Regions from separate parts of the Homo sapiens genome. Here all the other regions are linked to region 2. The links are contacts of gene promoters, found by promoter capture Hi-C in blood cells and fetal thymus (Javierre and others, 2016). All regions are on one chromosome and are shown on one strand. Each heading gives the region's core, a stretch centred on a gene start or on the middle of the fragment in contact. The rest is flanking DNA. Distances are from core to core; before and after follow the strand shown.

Region 1 (4,043 bases), core at 916-3,415, 250 kb before region 2:
CTCAGACCAGGCACCACTAAACCAGGGAAAGGAGCTGGGGGAGTGAGGGTTGGGCCCAGTCTGGGCCAGAGGAAAGGACCAAGGGCACAGAGAGGAGAGTCTGTGGCAGTCAGTGGGGACCCAGAAAGCAGAGCCCATCTCCCATATCCACTGGAGACTGAGAAATGAATACTGAGACTAATGGGCTCAAGGACATCTAGGGATGAAAAAGATGAAGCCAGTGTGACTCCAGGAATAATAGAACAGAGGAAGGAGACTAAGGAGGCAGTAGGTGTAGATGTGAGATAGAGGACAGGACAAGTCAGGGTCTCCATGGGGATTTGGATTAAAGGAGACAGAAAGATGTAGGCACATGGACGAGATGGATAAAGAAAGGAAGTCTTCCAGGAGAGGACCAAGAAGGGAGTAGGGGACAACAAGGACTAGAACAGTAAGAGTGGTAGAAGGAAGGGACAGGACATAAGATTGGGGACCAAGACCTAGACACCAATACAAAGAAATAGACACATAGGCCACAGAGGAAGAGCAGTGGCCAAAGGACAGAAAGGTAGCAAGATATGGATGGAGTGATATTGGACCATGGGGAAAGAGGGGCAGGCAGGCAAAGGGCCTGCAGGAGTGGGGTAGAAAATGAAGAGGAAGGAGAGAAAATGAGACAGTCAGCATTCCAGGATGCTACCTCCTCTCCTCTGTCCTGCACTCTCATTTTTGGAACCCTGAAAGACTGGTTCTCATTCCTACTTCTGGCTCATGGTATCTAGATCTTCAGTAATAGATCCAAATCCTCAACCTCTTCTTGGTGTACCTCCTACATTCTTTTGAAAAATGCATATTAAACACCTATTCTGCACCACATCCTGAGTAAGGCATTAGCGACCCCTCAGTAACTTACACTAATACCAGCCCTGACTTCAAGAAACTTACAGACTGATGAAACAGAGAAACATCAAATTATTGCCCTTTGGCTGGGTGCAGAGGCTCATGCCTGTAATCCTAGCACTTTGGAAGGCCAAGATGGGTGGATCGCTTGAGCCCAGAAGTTCGACACCAGCCTGGGCAACATGGCAAAACCCTGTCTCTACTAAAAATACAAAAACTGAGGTGGGAGGATCAGGAGCCTGGGGAGGATGAGGGTGCAGTGGGCCATGATGGTGCCACTGCACTCTAGCTTTGGAGACAGAAAGAAACCCTGTCTCAAAAAAAAAATAATAAATAAATTATTGTCCTTAGGCCCAGGCAGGAGTGGCCCCTGCCCTGGGCCCTGTGCTTTAGAAGGCTCCACTCTGGCCTCCTCTGGCTATGTCCCACCACATGGGTGAGGAGTCCAACTATCCTCTGCCCATACCTTAATCCTCTCAGGACCACACTCCAGATAGCTAAGCATTCCCTGTCCAAAAGGCCCAAGCCCACTCCTAGGGCCCACGTGAACCTCTTCCCTGGGTTTGCCCTCCCACGGCTGGGCCACATGACTGGTTCACACATTCTGAGGTCAAAGGGTAGACAAGGGGTAGCTGCTTGCAGGAGACTGTGGACAGACTTGGGATGGCCTGATGGGAGGTCCACATGGTTCCACACAAGGCCCCTTGCAGTCCAAGATGGTGTCAGGGGTAGGAGGCAAAGTGGGCCCAGCTGAGGGCCAGTGGCCAAAACTACATCCCCCTACACCATCACATTCTGGTGCAGAACCCTGAGGATTCCAAATAAAATACAAATCTGAACCTGGCCTTCCAGGCCATTGTGAAGTATGTATTTGTCAATATATTTGTCAAGGTAGAAGAACAGAATATATTTTGTGTAACAGTTTGTTAGCCTGAATTATACTTTTTTTTTTTTTTTTTTGAGATAGCTCTGTCGCCCTGGCTGGAGTGCAGTGGTGTGATCTCGGCTTACTGCAACCTCTGTCTCCTGGGTTCAAGTGATTCTCCTGGCTCAGCCTATCAAGTAGCAGACATGCACCACCATGCCTGGCTAATTTTTTTTTTTTTTTTTTTTTTCACAGAGTCTTGCTCTGTCCCCCAGGCTGGAGGGCAGTGGCGCGATCTTGGCTGACGGCAAGCTCCGCCTCCCAGGTTCATGCCATTCTCCTGCCTCAGACTCCGGCTGGAACTACAGGCACCCGCCACCATGCCTGGCTAATTTTTTTTTTGTATTTTTAGTAGAGATGGGGTTTCACTGGGTTAGCCAAGATGGTCTCGATCTCCTGACCTCGTGATCCGCCCGCCTCGGCCTCCCAAAGTGCTGGGATTACAGGCGTGAGCCACTGCGCCTGGCCTAATTTTTGTATTTTTAGTAGAGACAGGGTTTCATGTTGGCCAGGCTGGTCTTGAACTCCTGACCTCAAATGATCCACCCGCCTCAGCCTCCCAAAGCGCTGGGGTTATAGGCATGAGCCACTGCGCCGACCCTGAGTTATACATTTTAATCTTTTTTTTTTGAGACAGGGTCTCGCTCTGTTACCCAGGCTGGAGTGCAGTGGTGCAATCATAGCTCACTGCAGCCTTGAACTCCTGGGCTCAAGCTATCTCCCACTTTAGTCTCCCAAGCAGTTGGGACTACAGGTGCACACCACCATGCCTGGCTACTTTTTTATTTTTTGTAGAGAAGAAGTCTCACTATGTTGTTCAGGCTGGTCTTAAACTCCTGGGCTCAAGTGATCCTCCAGCCTCTGCCTCCCAAAGTGCTGGGATTACAAGGCATGAGCCACCACACCCAGCCCATTTTAAATATTTAAACACAAGGTTTGAGGGCCTCTATTTGTACTCCTGCCGCAGGTCCTACATATGTTAGAGATGTGTCTACATAAAAACAAACCATTTAAACAGAGATGAATGTGCTAAGAAGAAGAAGGGCAGGGTGCTATGAAATTTTCTTCCACGAAGACATACTCTAATACAAAGCCAGAGGGGATGCATCACAGGGACAGGTTGCCTAAGAAAGTCATGCTAAACCAAGACTGGTCAGGTGAATAAGAAGTGACCCTGCCTGGAGGTGTGGACAGGGTGGGAATTCCAGGCGGCAGAAACAACATATGCAAAGGTTGTGAGGCAGGAAAGATGTAGACATGTTCACAAAACTGAGAAAAGATCCACGTAGCCAGAGAGTAGAAAGCCTGGAAGGTGGGAAGAACAGTGATAGCTGAGGCTGGAGAAGTCAGCAGGGGCCAGATCATGCAGAGCCTGGGAGGTCACATTAAGGGTTTGGGCTTTATTCTAAGAGCAGGGAGAAGCTACTGAAGGGTTTTCAGTAGAGACATGATGTGATCAGATTTGTGTTCGGAAGGATCACGTATGTCAGCACTTTGTGTTTGTGGAGGAAGGCAACAATGAAATAAGAGTCAGATTAGAGGACTAATGCCGTAACCAAGTTGAGCCTGAGGAATATTTGCAACTGGAAGCACACTCTGAGACAGAAACTTGTGTGCAGGTGGTTTACTCGGGGGGGGGGGGGGGGCACGGGGGGGGACTTTCAAAGAAAGAGTAGCAGGACCCAAGAGAGGGAACAGTTGAATGGCACTGCAGTTGTAATCAGCTGAGCCTAAAGAGCTCTGGGGCTGGGATGGACCTTCAGAGTTGTCCCAAACTGAGACAAAGGGCTAGGCCTCTGTACTTTATAACAACCATTCATTGGATACATACTGCCCCCAGGAAGCGGGCATTGCATTTGGTGAGACAGCTCCCTTTGGCCACAGATAGTGCTCAAGGAAGTACTCAGCTGTGAGCTATCAGCAGCCAACACTCAGCAGCTGGAACAATGAGCATCATGATCCTGAAGCGGGAATCTGGGCTACACACCACAGCATCACTACTCGGGCTGTGAGACTTCAGGGATGAACCCAGAGGCCCCAGAGAGGACAATGCAGATCACACTCTGCCCCCTGGTGGTACTCCTTGGACATAGGGCCAGCTGGTGGGCCAGGCTCTCCCGGCAGGGAACTAAAGAAAAGTGTGTGGCAGATAAGGGGAAATGAGCAGTGCAAGGAAATCTGCACGTGAGCCCCTTGCTCCATCTGCCTAAAGCTAGAGAAGAAAGTAATGGTGGGGAAG
Region 2 (4,479 bases), core at 1,709-4,208:
CTCCCTCCTCCAGACTCTCGGCTGCTTCACCAACACGACCTCTTAGGTCTGGAAACGTTTGCAGGTAGGTTTCTTGTGCTTGGAATACCACTCCACTGTCGCTACCCACTCCCATCGCACAAAACTTTTTTTTTTTTTTTTTCATTCTCTGTCAAGGTTTCATTAACCACATCTGTTGTCCCCGGGGTAAACCACGACACGACTCCCTTCCGTGTGGCCTGGATCCCTCTTCTGGTAACAGCAGGCATTGCATCACACTGTTGTACCAGCTCTGCGAAAGCACGGTTGGGTATCCTGCGCCCAGCGTTGCACCTTGACTTGGAGTCACAGCTCAACAACCCCCTAAAAGGAGCCTACTAGCACGTGGCAGAGCCGTCCTGAGCGCAGCCTGTGCTACTTGCGTGCTCACCTGCGGCAGCAGTGCAGGCCGTGAGTCCGGCTGTGGCCCAAGATACAGCCCGAGGACCAGCAGATGCGAGAGTGAGGAGGCGAGGCCCGCGACGGCGGCGTCCCGCATGCCCAAGGGCAGCATGGCATACGCCGTGAAGATGACGAAGAGAAAATAGGACACCTGGGGGCGGGGCGCGGGAAGCCGAAGGCCCAAGTGGGGCTATTCAAGGCCTGGTGAGGGATCGAAGCCCGGGCCGTCCCCGCTGCCCCGCCTGCCGCCCCTCTCACCTGGTCCCAGGCGCTCACCACGCCCCCGGTGAACAGGAAGGCGTGGCCTAGCGCTAGCAGCGCGACCCATACCAAGCCGGACAGGGGACGCGTCCAGCGCTGCAGTCGCTGCTCCCGGGAAGCGAGGCCCAGCAGCAGCGAGAAGCCGCCCAGCGCGCACAGCACAGTGGTCAGGAAGCTCGGGTCTGAGGTCAGCTCCTGTGGGCAGGGGTGTGTGAGGCAAGATTGTGACAGGGAGAAGGAACGAACCTGATAAAGGAAAAGCCAGCAGCCCAGCCCCTCAGCCCAGTTCTGAAAGGTGTCTCAAGCCTAAGTACGAAAAGGAGGCAAGGCACCTCCGCTTGCCATTCACTTTAGGTTGAACCATTTGAAATTGCTTGTGTCCTACTGCTTTTATCTAGACTCAGCAGTCTCGTATGGTTTTTGTTGGTTGGTTGGTTTGTTTTTTGAGACAGAGTCTTGCTCTGTCGCCCAGGCTGGAGTTCAGTGGCGCGATCTCGGCTTACTGCAACCTCTGCCTCCCGGGTTCAAGTGATTCTCATGCCTCAGCCTCCCGAGTAGCTGGGATTACAGGCTCCCGCCACCACGCCCAGCTAATTTTTTTTTTTTTGTATTTTTAGTAGAAGACAGGGTCTCGCCAAGTTGCCCAGGCTGGTCTCGAGCTCCTGGGCTCAAACGATCTCCCGCCTTGGCCTCCCAAAGTGCTGGGATTACAGGCGTGAGCCACAGCGCCCAGCCTCCTGTTGTCCAACCTATTATCTTGCTGGGACAGCTACCCAGAAGATCTGGCTCCCATCCCCTATTTGTTTCTGAGCCTCAGTTTTCTTATCTGTCAAACGGGAACCAAAGCGTCATGAAGCAAGTGAAAGATAGATCCAAGCTCACAAGGAGGCACTTCGGAATGAATGTCTCCAAATCTGGCCAATTTGCTCGGGAGATTCCCGGAGCCGGGGACCGCGGCCGGCAGCTTGAAGGGCGGCGCGAGGCAGCGCTCGAGCAGCAGGGGGCGCCAGGACCCGCGGCGTCCCGCACCTCCCTGGCCACCAGGGCTGCGATCTCGCCACCTGCCTCAACTCCAAGCAGAAGCTGCACAGCCGTCCCAGCATTTTGTCCCCACCTCTTCCCGGATTTAGGCGTGGACCAGCAAGGATTGGCCGCGCCCGGTGATTTTCCCACCTTGCCTCCAAGCAGTGAAAAGAAAACCAGGGGCAGGCCATTTCTAGAATTGGATTGAAGACCTTCTTCCTCCCCAAACAGAAACTGGACATGGGTTTACTTTGGGACTCAGTGAGAGCCCGGTGGAGGGTGCCTTCTGGGAGTCTGTGGGTACAACTGCTCTACATCCCCTAAGAGGGAGAGAAAGGCAGGAAATGAATTCCCCAGGGGCCTCCTAGAATTTCCCCTTTGGAAAACTGGAAAATCCGGTGATGGATTTATTGTAGAACCCGTAGACCACGGATGTTCATAAAGTCTGTCAGAACCCGGACAGAAACGAGAAGCATCCAGGACTCAGCTTTCTCCCTGAGCAGACCCAGAAGGGTAGAGTGACTTGCCCAGGGTCACTGCAGTTCCTAGCCAGGCTCAATGGTCCTTTCTTTCTCTGCTCCCAGCAACGAAAACACATCGAAAAGAAGACCCCACAAACCCCAACCCCGAAAATGCTCCCCAGGTAGAGACCCTCCCGCAGCAGAGGCTCGGCTCACCCTGCCGCTGGCCCAGGCCACTGCGAGCAGCGCCGCGAGCGCACAGAGCACGATCCCCAGCAGCAGCAGCAGCAGCGGGTACTGCTGGCTCAGGCTGTAGTAGGTCTCGTAGAAGAGGTCTTCGCTGGGGGGCGGCCGGGGGCTGAAGAGGCGGGCCATGATCTCCCCAGCCCCGAGCCCCGGGGCTGGCTAGGGCCGGGCGCCGGGTTACCTCCTTCGGCCCGGCGGGCCCCACCTGAGCTTTTCTCACCCGCTCAAAGCCGCTACCACCCCGCGCCCCCAACCTCGTGGCAATCCCGTCTCCTTTTTCAGGCCCTCCCTGCGGCCTCCCAGCCCGCTCCCAGCTGGCGATGAGGGGATCCCTCAGTCCTTTCCTCCTCCTCCCTCAAACCCGGATTGTAGAGGTGCCCTAGAAAAGCCTCATCGCCAGGAGGGCAGGATTTGGGGTTGGTGCGAGGGAGCCCCGGGTTCCCCTGATCCCCGAACTCACTGCCCGCGGCGCTGGCGCAGCGGAGTGGGCTAGGTCCGGGGAGGGAGCCGGGGACCTGATGGCGGAGTCACGCTCGCCGCTGCGCTCTGGCTCAGAGTCCCGGGCGACAGGCGCTTCCCTCCCGGCGCCGCGGCCCCCTCCCACTTCCCCGACGGGACAGCCCGGCCCCTTCCTGTGCCAAAGCCGGACTCCCCTGGTCTCCTCCCGCACTTGGTTTTGTCTCTCCTAACACCATCGCCTCCCCGCTTCAGCCCCTTCAGGGAAGGGCAATGTGGACCCTGGGAGAGATGCGAAGGGGTGGGCTGGGGTGGACCCAATGGGATGTGTCCAAATGGAGGTGAACGTTTGGTAGTGGGGAGACCGAGGGCGGGGGGCTGAAGCCTGGCGAGAATGTAGGGAAGAATGTGGGTCCTGGTGGGGATCTAGGTCAGAGTTGGGGGCGCTCATTCTCTTGACCTCTCCGCTTGGCTGGCAACCACTACCACCGGGTTTGAACTGTTCATGCTCCGTGGGAGGGGTTGCGCCTGTGTATAGCTTTAGGAGCCATAGCTTTCCACTCCCGAACAGCAACTGGGAATCAAAAGGGAAGCAATGTCCAGGAAGCAACCTGAGTGTGTGGTGGAGGCAGGTATGTGGCGTCATGATCTCTAAGAGCCTGGGGGCACCGTGCGGGGCCAGGTCTGTGATCTTTCACATCAACTCATCCCTCGCCAGAGCCCTGCAAGTGAGTCTTGAGAGCCCGGAAGAAAAGGGACCACAGCCTCTATCCCCAGAGTTTAGGGTTAGGGTGGGGTCGCCATCCTAGGCTTTAGAGGAAGCACTGCCCTGAGATTAGAGAGTGGTCTGGGGAACCAGGCCTCTAGGATTCCTTCCTGTTGTAGCCGGCTGTGCCCTGACCTTGTGTGCCAGGCCATTGCCCACTCCCAGCCCCCAGCATCCCCACTTCCTGCCATAGCAGAGCTGTGGTGCCTCCCTATCCCTCACTGGCAGCTCCCACCCCCATCCCAGTCCCTCCCTGCCCCTGGCTGAGCTCAGACTGACTAGCATTCCATCATGTTTATTGACTCCTGGGGGACAGGTCACAAAGTCAGTTTGTGGGCAGGCCAGACTGCCCTAGAAGGAAGTCAGGGGCCTCAAGGGGTGGCACTCTTCCTTAACTCGTAACTCTTGGAGGCAAGCTTGGAAGGTGCTTTATTTCCCGCTATGATTATACCAACCCTGTGGCCTGCTCCAGGCTTCAGGATCTTTAGGGCCTTCTTGCGAACCTACTGGTGGGGGGTGCTGCAAGCCCCTCCCCTTGCCCGAAGGTGCCAAGCCCCATGTGGGCAAGGCAGTTGTCTGTTGCATAGTCAAGTAGTTGTTGTCTCCAACTTGCACCCCAGAGCAGTTGTATATGTTAACGAGCGGTCGCCCTTTAAGAGAAATAGTGATGGTGGCAGGAGGGTTTAGCTGTCAGAAAGGCCAAGTTGGGGGTGGGTGGGGAGTATGAAGTCTCTACTTGTCAGTGGCTGTGTCAAGGTGTGCCCTGTGCTCCTCCCCTCAGAGCTCCTCTCCAGAATTGTGTTAGCAGAAGCTCTAGAGAGTGGCAATTGACATTTGAGACCCTGA
Region 3 (4,397 bases), core at 936-3,435, 220 kb before region 2:
AGAAGGTACGATAATTTAAGGAATAAGGAGTCCTTACAGCCCCAGTATATTCAGCCACAGGGGTGGGCTTGGGTACAGTTCTGCTAACTGTCCTCTGAGGCTGGCAGACCTAGGATGAAACTTCTCCTTGGTACTCACAGTGGATGCTACCCCTGACACCCGGGAGCTGGAATTCAATGAGATCAAGACACAAGTGGAACTGGCCACAGGGCAGCTGGGGCTTAGGCGGGCCGCCCAGAAGCACAGCTTTCCTCGAATGTTGCACCAGGTAGGCCTCTCCACCTCCCAGCCTGGCAGCAGGCCTGCCAAAGCAGCCAGAAGCTCTGCCAGCCCCAGAGAAAAAGGAAGTCAACTTTCCAAAGTAGAAGCCTCAAGCGCTGGGGCTGGAGAGTTAACCAGCCTCCATCGGAGTTCTGTGGGACAGACTATGATGTGTGTGTCCATTTCTATAACAAGAGCAATATCTTTGGAGGAGGGGGCTTGATATGGCTGAAGTGGCCCTCTATTTCTGCTAGCAATATTCCCCAATCCCTTCCATTTAGAGAGAACGGGGCCTCTGCCATCGGGGAAGCTTCTCCCTTGGAGAACAGTCTCGAGTGATATCTCAGTGAGTATGGGGCTTGGTGAAGAGACTCTAAGGGCCAGATAGGTCTTATCTCCTAAACTTTGAAGGGGTAGGTGTTAAAGGAGCCTCAGAGATATTAAAGGTTAGGTTAAATGGGGTTGAAACTTTGAGAGTAAACAAAGTAGAAAAGTGTAGAAAATTGTAGAAATTTAGAGGATGGTGGAATGGTTGAAAGACGGGATTGCACTCACAGCCAAAAGGGAAGAATGACTGTTCTGATATTCCAGCTCTGTTAGGATTCTGCTGATTGGGACACTCCTTATCCTGAGCACCCCTCACCCTCACTTTCTCTCTCCTTCCCTAGCTTCTTGCCCAATGATCTGGGCTTCACTGATAGCTACTCTCAGAAGGCTTTCTGTGGCATCTACAGCAAAGATGGTCAAATATTCATGTCTGCTTGCCAAGGTACCAGACCCTGGTCCTATAAACTATCTTTTCCTGGAACATGGGACATTCCCCCTGACTGAGGCTAGAAAGCCACAGACGGGGAGCTCAGACCTGGCTTAAGGATGCTTAGCCAGACCATGTTTCCCATGATAAAGGGAAGACTCCACAGGTACACTGAGTGGGAGATGTCTAATCTAGAAAAGTTACAAGGAAACTGTCCCATAATTCTGCCTGATCTTTACTTACACAGACCAGACAATCCGACTCTATGACTGCCGATATGGCCGTTTCCGTAAATTCAAGAGCATCAAGGCCCGCGACGTAGGCTGGAGCGTCTTGGATGTGGCCTTCACCCCTGATGGGAACCACTTCCTCTACTCTAGCTGGTCTGATTACAGTGAGTATGCACCAGGCTTCCACTGACTCTCCAGCCTGGGACCTGAGGTTTCCATGTGCCTGTCCCCTCTGAGCCAGGATCCCTCACTTTGTCCTGGGAAAATCACTCCCAAAGTGCTCCAGTACCCTTGTCCCCTGTTTGATCTCTTCCCTAGCTTCACTTCCACTCTTCTTCCCCCATCCCTGAAAGATTCTTGTTTTTCTTGCTTCTCTTAGTTCATATCTGCAATATCTATGGTGAGGGAGATACACACACTGCCCTGGATCTCAGGTACTGGCTTCCCTTTCTGGTCAGACTCATCAGAAACTTCTCAAGGGAAGCTCTTTGGGAGCAAACCTCTTGAGTTGGAAGTTCTGTTTAGGGGAAAAAGTATACTGGTGGGTCTGTGTGCATTCCTGGGAGGGAAGCACCATCTTGTCAGCCAGAGGACTGGGTAAAATAGATGGTTGCAGGATGATTTCTGGGTTCTCACTGAGCATCTGCATTATGGTGCATGTTAGCCAGACTTCTTTTTTCCCCTGGGGATGTGCCTTACAACCGTTGTCAGATTTTATGTAGATTAACAAAAGCTGAAGGAAGTCCACTTAACCCAGCTCCTTCTTGCTTTTAGGCCAGATGAGCGTCGCTTTGCTGTCTTCTCCATTGCTGTCTCCTCAGATGGACGAGAAGTACTAGGAGGGTAAGTGCTTGTGGGGTATGTTTCCCTCAATAACAAGATGGGGGTTCTGCCAGAGATGAGTTCTGCTGTTACACAGATGGCACTGGCAGCTGCAGAGAACAACCAGACCTTCTCCCAAGGTCAGGATTTACAAGTTGCTTCACCCCTTGCTCTCCATTTCCCCAGCACGAGATTGGAGGTGTCAAGCCTCCTTGAAACACAGCTAACTCTTCCCCCACTTCCTGTATAAAAAGAGCAAAGGGCTTGACCCAGAGCAGGATTTCTCAGTGGAACTCTCTAGAGCATATACCACGTTGGTCCTCTCGATCATGGCTCCAGGACCCTCCTTTATCCCTTCCCTTTCAGGGCCAATGATGGCTGCCTGTATGTCTTTGACCGAGAACAGAACCGGCGCACCCTTCAGGTATGGCTCCTGAGATAGAGCCTCTGCCTCCTGGTTTTTGGCTTTTTATAAGACCTAGAAAGAGGTCTTATATCCTGGCCTCCTTTTCGCCTAGATTGAGTCCCATGAGGATGATGTGAATGCAGTGGCCTTTGCTGATATAAGCTCCCAAATCCTGTTCTCTGGGGGAGATGATGCCATCTGCAAAGTGTGGGATCGACGCACCATGCGGGAGGATGACCCCAAGCCTGTGGGTGCACTGGCTGGACACCAGGATGGCATCACCTTCATTGACAGCAAGGTGGGCCAGAAGTCAGGACTGTACAGCCAGGCCGCTAAGGTTCTAGTTGCCCAGGAGGGCATGAAAGCGGACTGGTGTGGGAATTTGACAAGCTCCTTATTAACCAAGGTTTGTAAGAGTTGGAGTTTAGGGAAGGGGCTCAAGCCAGGGAACATGAATTCCATCTGTACTCACCAGTCCTCAAGGAGCAGGGCAGGGCTTTCCGTACAAGAAAAATGGAAGACCGGTCAGGTACAGCGGCTCACACCTGTAATCCTAGCACTTTGGGAGGCTGAGGTGGGAGGATCACTTGAGCTCAGGCGTTCCAGACCAGCCTGTGAAACCTAGCGAGACCTCATCTCTATTTATTTAAAAAAAAAAACAAAAAAAAAAAACTAAGGCCAGATGCCGTGGCTCATGCCTGTAATCCCAGCACTTTGGGAGGCCGAGGCGGGCAGATCACGAGGTCAGGAGATCGAGACCATCCTGGCTAACATGGTGAAACCCCGTCTCTACTAAACATACAAAAAAATTAGCTGGGTGTGGTGGCAGTCGCCTGTAGTCCCATCTACTCAAGAGGCTGAGGCAGGAGAATGGCGTGAACCCGGGAGGCGGAGCTTGCAGTGAGCCGAGATCACCCCACTACACTCCAGCCTGGGTGACAGAGCAAGACTCCATCTCAAAAAAAAATTAGTTAATTAAAAATTAAAAAAAGAAAAATGGAAGACAATCTGATTAAGGCTAGAATAGGAAAGCCGGCCAGTAGCCTGGGCAAGGAAAGGAAAACCTAGCCAGGTGGTAGGATCTGAGGCAGAACGCTGGAAATGAGTTCACCTGGATGAAGAGAGGCAAGTAAAGCCAGAGGCCAGAGTTCTTCTGCTCAACTAGAGAACGGGAACTAGACTGACAGGCGCCGACATTTGCAAGCTCTGATGCTTCACTATCCACCTTTGGATTCATAGGGTGATGCCCGGTATCTGATCTCCAACTCTAAAGACCAGACCATCAAACTCTGGGATATCCGACGCTTTTCCAGCCGGGAAGGCATGGAAGCTTCACGCCAGGCTGCCACACAGCAAAACTGGGACTATCGGTGGCAGCAAGTGCCCAAAAAAGGTGAGACTGGAAGTACAGGCACAGTGGATTTGTCTGTAGCCTGGGAGCCCTGGAGGACCTCCCCCTCAGCCCTCTTTGCCAGGCATTAACTCTTTATTTGCTAAATCATGGATGGAATGGCCAGAGGTTCCTAGGATTGGGGCCTGGGTGGGGGTCACTCAGAATCAACCAATATAAAAGTATGTGAGTGTAATGATTAACCGGCAGGGCCATATTGGAGACTGTCCACTGACTATTAGGTGGAGAAAGAGCCACCACTTGAAGATTGGAAAGGCATTTGTCTCTGGGCATCGAACCTTGCTCAGGACTGGTGGTACGAAACAATCCCAAAGCAGATTTCCTAACCTAGGGTTTACTCTGCATCCCTACCCAGCCTGGCGGAAGCTGAAGCTCCCAGGGGACAGCTCCTTGATGACCTACCGGGGCCACGGAGTGCTGCACACCCTCATCCGCTGCCGGTTCTCCCCCATTCATAGCACTGGCCAGCAGTTCATCTACAGTGGCTGCTCCACTGGCAAAGTGGTTGGTAAG

The links. Contacts are between HindIII fragments. The CHiCAGO score rates a contact against its expected background, and 5 or more counts as called.
Region 1: a contact is called between a fragment that was not itself captured here and the fragment with the promoter of ADCY4 in region 2, in 1 of 17 cell types (activated CD4 T cells). The highest score is 6.8, in activated CD4 T cells.
Region 3: a fragment that was not itself captured here is called in contact with the fragment with the promoter of ADCY4 in region 2 in 4 of 17 cell types (naive CD4 T cells, naive CD8 T cells, activated CD4 T cells and 1 more); the score reaches 5.5 in naive CD4 T cells.

The regions. Positions count from the first base shown.
Region 1 is chr14:24,086,832-24,090,874 of GRCh38, forward strand. The region is part of intron 1 of NRL (neural retina leucine zipper); the gene reads right to left. Among named protein-coding and RNA genes, the nearest start is that of PCK2, 5.5 kb to the right of the region's middle. RefSeq lists enhancers at 2,169-2,668, 3,584-3,633. The HindIII fragment of the contact is 5,113 bases long and covers 1-4,043 here.
Region 2 is chr14:24,332,113-24,336,591 of GRCh38, forward strand. It overlaps ADCY4 (adenylate cyclase 4), which reads right to left and starts at 2,959. Exons shown (of 25, transcript NM_001198568.2): 1 at 2,382-2,959; 2 at 679-876; 3 at 410-571. The coding sequence starts at 2,540. It overlaps RIPK3 (receptor interacting serine/threonine kinase 3), which reads right to left. Exons shown (of 10, transcript NM_006871.4): 10 at 3,913-4,283. The coding sequence ends at 4,063. RefSeq lists silencers at 1,596-1,695, 2,356-2,515, 2,586-2,665. The HindIII fragment of the contact is 4,552 bases long and covers 1-4,047 here.
Region 3 is chr14:24,117,126-24,121,522 of GRCh38, forward strand. It overlaps DCAF11 (DDB1 and CUL4 associated factor 11), which reads left to right. Exons shown (of 15, transcript NM_025230.5): 4 at 141-268; 5 at 543-607; 6 at 930-1,030; 7 at 1,263-1,409; 8 at 1,625-1,679; 9 at 2,020-2,088; 10 at 2,434-2,491; 11 at 2,586-2,771; 12 at 3,713-3,866; 13 at 4,240-4,392. Among named protein-coding and RNA genes, the nearest start is that of NRL, 4.4 kb to the left of the region's middle. The HindIII fragment of the contact is 3,232 bases long and covers 570-3,801 here.